Regions from separate parts of the Homo sapiens genome. Here region 2 is linked to region 1. The links are contacts of gene promoters, found by promoter capture Hi-C in blood cells and fetal thymus (Javierre and others, 2016). All regions are on one chromosome and are shown on one strand. Each heading gives the region's core, a stretch centred on a gene start or on the middle of the fragment in contact. The rest is flanking DNA. Distances are from core to core; before and after follow the strand shown. Region 1 holds the start of PC (pyruvate carboxylase). Region 2 overlaps SPTBN2 (spectrin beta, non-erythrocytic 2).

Region 1 (2,700 bases), core at 140-2,639:
AAAGTGAAGATTAAGCCTTGAAGCTGAGTCACTGCAACACCCTCTTCCAAAAGAATAGCTGTTACTAGCATTAGGCATCAGCCATATCCACACGGAAAGGTAAAAACCTCAGGCATTTGGGAAGGGCTGCCCCCACAGATCATTCACAAGTAAATTCTTGCTGGCCTCCCATAAACAAGGACAGGTCAATTGTAGCTTCAGGTCTACAATCTAAGTCTAGCTCCTAAAAATTCCACAATAAGAATGTCATTACAAGCTTATTTTCCCAGGTGCAGAACAAAGTCAAAACTACCTACTCAGAGACATCTGCATAACTGACTCTTCCTTTACTCTCTTTTTCTCTTCAGACATTCATCTCATCTTACGTAGATTTACCGGGCATTAGCTAAAGTCCCATAGGAATGTAACTATTGTCCTAATCGCCTACTTGCCCTTCTTCCTACATGCCTTCCCCTCATTCCCCCTTTAAGGAAATGCATAAATACTAAACCTCCCGAAAACCTCTTCGGAAAAACAACCACGGATGTGTCTGTGGTTCGTGTTTTTCCCGAGCACGCCCTCAAACTGGATTAATAAGCCTCGATGACAGAGACTTATGCCTCAGTCACTTGTTCCACTTGTCAAAGCTTTCCTCTTTGACAAGTGTCTTGGGTCTTGTCAAGTGTCTTGTGTCTCAAACAAGGCTTCCAAACCCCCTAGGTCCTGAGTAGCTTCGCTCTGCAGATGACAAAACCGAGACTCAGAGGTTAAGTTGCTTGCCCAAGGTCACACAGACGTACTGTAGACCCCCATCATCATCTACGCAGCTGTTAAAGGACATAGTCATGTAACCCGTGTGGCACAAGCGCCTTCTCCTTCCTCCTGCCCTTCGCTAACGTTAGCTTTTCCTGCGACCTCTTCTCCGCTAGCCAGCGCGTATCTGCGTCTAGCCGGGATGCCTGAGCCCCAGTGCGAACTGTTGTGCTTGCAGCTTCGGGAGACACGTGCTACTCGGGTGAATGAATCGAACGTCCCCACCCCCGCCGACAGCCAATAACTGCGAGCCACAGCCCGGCCACTTCCGCCTATTGCGGGCGTCGGCTAGGGTCCGGCGGCCCACGTGAGGCTCCGGAGACAAGGGAGTAGGCGGTGGTGCGCCAGGGGCGGGCTCTCCCAGCCTCGCCACTTATCCAGGCGCTCGCCGGGGACGGGAGGGGCGGGGCTGACGTGGGGCGCCAAGGCTTAAACGTGACGGACAGGCGGGCACAGGGAGGAGTCCAGAGCCTAGGGGCGAGGAGTGACGGAGAACACTGCCCAATAACGGGAGGGGTTGGGCTGTCTGGGCCAATAGGAAGTCCGTAAGGCGGGGCCGGGACTGCAGCAAGTTCGGTTGCACGGAGACCGCAGCTGTTCTCTGTCAGTGGAGGCAGCAGCGGTAGAGGCGGCGGCGAGGACTGGCGACGGCGAGGAGGTGAGTGTCCGCCGCGCTCCGCACGGTCCTCTTCCCGCGGCGGGTCGGAGCGGGTGGACGTGCGCCGGCACCGCTGCGAGGGACGCTTATGTAAGGGTCGCGCGCGCAAAGGCGGCGCGGGCTCCGCGAGTGACGGCTGGAGGAGACAGCGACGGGCTGTGCGCGGTGCGCGACGCGACGCAGCGGACGGCGCCCCTCCCCCTCGCGCGGGGGCTCGGCCGGCTGGACCCGCCCCCGGACCCGCCCCCGGCTGCAGCCCCCGAGCGCCCCTCCGCAGCGTCCGCCTGCGGGCTGCCTCATTCTTGCTCTCGGGCCCATTTTGCAGATGGAGAAACTGACTAAAGCGCCTCGCGCGAGGTCCCTGAGGGTTCGAACCCAAGTCTGTCAGGATCGGGAGCCCAAGTTGTCCCCATCGTACTGGATGTGGCTCAGCTCTGCAGGAAGCCGCGGCGTGTAAGGCGAGGGCTTTCCTTGTTCCTTGCTCTCGCACTCCGCCTCCCGTAGGATCCTCTACTTTGTTTCAGACGGGGAAGCTCCAGGCGCCCAGACGCAGTGATTCGCCCAAGGCCGCTCATTCAGGAGGTGGGGCTGGGCTCAGCCCCTTATTTCTCCAGCTTTTAGTAGTTTACAAAGCGCATCAGAGTCGGAAGCCAAGTCCCTAGGTCCCTGGCAACTTTGAGATTCTTTTGTTTTCTTTTCTTTTTTAGACAGGGTCTTGCTGTCACCCACCCAGGCTGGAGTGCAGTGGCGCGATCTCGGCTCACTGCAGTCTCGACCTCCCGGGCTCAAGCGACCCTCCTGCCACAGTCCCCCAGTGCTGGGACTACAGGCGGGCGCCACCACGCCTAGCTAATTTTTGTATTTTTTGGTAGAGACGAGGTTCCGTCATGTTGCCCAGGCTGGTCTCGAACTCCTACGCTCAAGCGAGCGGCCTGCCCTGGCTTCCCAAAGTGCTGAGATTACAGGCGTGCCTCGTCTGAAATTCTAAAAAATCAGATTGTGTCTTTATTTTGTGAGAAGAGGTAGGCCTGGGCTCCTTACCCGTTCTCCAGCTGAGAAAACAGGCTCAGAGAAGTACCAACACTTGCTGATGACAACCAGAACCTCCAGAGTGCCTGCCATCTGCCTCCCTATTGCTCCCGTACCCACTGCCACCATCAGCCCTGGCTGGCCTCCCCCAAGGCACCCTTTCCCTGTATGTGATGCAAACACTTGTGCTGGGGGTGGATGTGCTCAGCATTTCTCTCACT
Region 2 (2,700 bases), core at 182-2,681, 250 kb after region 1:
TTAGAAACGGCGTGATCACACCTGGAGATGGTGCTGAGAGCTGGCCTCTGTCCCCACTGAGCTGCAGGGATCACAGGGCCCATCGATCTGAGCATCCTAGGTTCAGGAGGCTTAGTTCATACCTTCCGTCCCACTGCCCCTCAATCCATTGACTTCTTAAACATTATTCTAGCCTAAAAGTCCATGATCCATCCCCACATAGCAATGCTGTTTCTTTTCTTGCTTTTCTTCCCCAAACAACTGATTTTGGTCTCCACGGGGAACTCTGGGTAAAAGCTTCCTTGTGCTTCTGGGGTTTGTGCTCTGCTTGGAGGGCCCTTCTTGTTTCCAGGAGAAGGGGAAAAAAAGATGAGCTTTTTGGTGCCCTTTTCATTTGAATGGGTAAGTTGTCATTTTGCTCTAAAAGGAGATGGAGAGATGTCAGCCTTGGAGGACTGGGCAGGCCCAGGGTTTGGGGTAAGTGATGCAAGTTATGGATGAACTTCTGGGAGGCCTGACCCAAATGGTCCTCTCTTGCAGACGTGAATGTGGACCAGCCAGATGAGAAGTCAATCATTACCTATGTGGCTACTTACTACCATTACTTCTCCAAGATGAAGGCCCTGGCCGTGGAAGGCAAGAGAATTGGCAAGGTACTGTCCATGGGCAGTAGGCATAAAGGCCAGAGGAGGCCCGGCTGAGGGGTCTTACTGCCCTAGTGCAAGGGCAGGGTGGAGCTGCAGGACTGGGCCAGGGACCCTGTGGCTGGGACTGTCACGTCCCTGTCTTCTGCCTCCCAGGTGCTGGACCATGCCATGGAGGCAGAGCGCCTGGTGGAGAAATACGAGTCCCTGGCCTCGGAGCTGCTGCAGTGGATCGAGCAAACGATCGTGACCCTCAATGACCGGCAGTTGGCCAACTCCCTTAGCGGGGTCCAGAACCAGCTGCAGTCCTTCAACTCCTACCGCACCGTGGAGAAGCCGCCCAAGTAGGTGTCCCTGGGGCCCCACCCTTCCCTGAGCTGTGCTCCCACGAGAGGAAGCCTAAATTAGCACAGCCTTCAGGGAGGGAAATTTGGCAGTACATAAATGCAGTGGAGATTTCCCACACCAGAAGCATCCAAACAACATAGTTGATACAAAATAAAATTTTTTAATGATTAGTCGTTTTTAAAAATCATGCTGTGGGCCGGGCATGGTGGCTCACGCCTGTAATCCCAGCACTTTGGGAGGCCAAGGCGGGCGCATCACCGAGACCAGTCTGGCCAACATGGTGAAACCCCATCTCTACTGAGGTCGGGAGTTTGAGACCAGCCTGGCCAACATGGTGAAACCCCGTCTCCACTAAAATTACAAAAAAATTAGCTGGGCATGGTGGCACACGCCTGTCATCCCAGCTACTCGGGAGGCTGAGGCAGGAGAACCACCTGAACCCGGGAGACAGAGGTTGCAGTGAGCCAAGATCACGCCACTGCACTCCAACCTGGGTGACAGAGCAAGACTCCGTCTCAAAAAACAAACAAACATGCTGTGGAAATGATTGCTATGATGTGTTGAGTCAGTGCGATCCATCAGATAAGATTACTGATCAGGTGTCATGGCAACCCAATCCTAGCATAGGATAGAGGGGACTGGACCTGACAGGCAGGTCACAACCGGCAACATGGGTGTGGCTGGTAACGTGAGAATTGCAGAGGTTCTTATCATTTCAGTATTTTAGCAATTAACTGTTCCAAGTATGTGATTGCTGTTAGGCAATTCTGTTCAGTACCTGCCAAAACGTCTGTGTTTATGCTGTCATGGAGTTCTTTTGGAGTTAATATATATCAGCTCTGAAACTAATATTAGTCCAGAAAACAATTGTTTCTATACATTCCAGGGAATGATTTAAGGTGTACCCTTTAACCTAGGAAGTTGTCTTCTGGACATTAAACAAAGATGTAGCTTCAAGGATGTTTATCAACACAACCACTAGAAAAGAAAAATAAGTCATGGGCAGCCACTGAAAATAATATTAAAGAAATGCATTTATTGACATGGAAAGGTGTTCATGAAAAATAAGTGGGGGAAATAGGTTATAAAAGAATTATTTTGGCTGGGCACCGTGGCTCATGCCTGTAATCCCAGCACTTTGGGAGACTGAGGCGGGTGGATCACTTGAGGTCAGGAGTTTGAGACCAGCCTGGCCAGCATGGTGAAACCCCATCTCTACTAAAAATACATAAATTAGCCAGGTGTGGTGGTGCATGCCTGTAATCCCAGCTACTCGGGAGGCTGAGGCAAGAGATTGGCTTGAACCCGGGAGGCAGAGGTTGCAGCGAACCCAGATCGCACCACTGCACTCCAGCCTGGGTGACAAAGCAAGACTCTGTCTCAAAATAAAATAAAATGATGTTCTTTTGGTTAGCCCATATTTTCTGGCTTCCACATAAAAAGTTTATATTGCTTTTGTAAGAAGAAAAGCAACACAGGACACCCATTTGGAAGAGTAAAGAGTCCTTGTGACCCTCGTGGGCTTTAATTCTGACCCCAACCCGGCCTCCTGCCTCAGGTTTACCGAGAAAGGGAACTTGGAAGTGCTGCTCTTCACCATCCAGAGCAAGCTTCGGGCCAACAACCAGAAGGTCTACACGCCCCGCGAGGGCCGGCTCATCTCGGACATCAACAAGGTCCGTGGCTGCCCACAGGCCACCCACCCTCAGGGCAGGCCCTGGCCCAGATG

The links. Contacts are between HindIII fragments. The CHiCAGO score rates a contact against its expected background, and 5 or more counts as called.
Region 2: a fragment that was not itself captured here is called in contact with the fragment with the promoter of PC in region 1 in 1 of 17 cell types (endothelial precursors); the score reaches 5.2 in endothelial precursors.

The regions. Positions count from the first base shown.
Region 1 is chr11:66,957,072-66,959,771 of GRCh38, reverse strand. PC (pyruvate carboxylase) reads left to right here and starts at 1,389. Exons shown (of 23, transcript NM_001040716.2): 1 at 1,389-1,450. RefSeq lists silencers at 952-1,311, 1,632-1,731 and enhancers at 1,382-1,431, 2,595-2,700. The HindIII fragment of the contact is 4,821 bases long and covers 629-2,700 here.
Region 2 is chr11:66,708,849-66,711,548 of GRCh38, reverse strand. SPTBN2 (spectrin beta, non-erythrocytic 2) reads left to right here. Exons shown (of 38, transcript NM_006946.4): 9 at 520-632; 10 at 780-967; 11 at 2,530-2,647. Among named protein-coding and RNA genes, the nearest start is that of SPTBN2, 19 kb to the left of the region's middle. The HindIII fragment of the contact is 2,305 bases long and covers 279-2,583 here.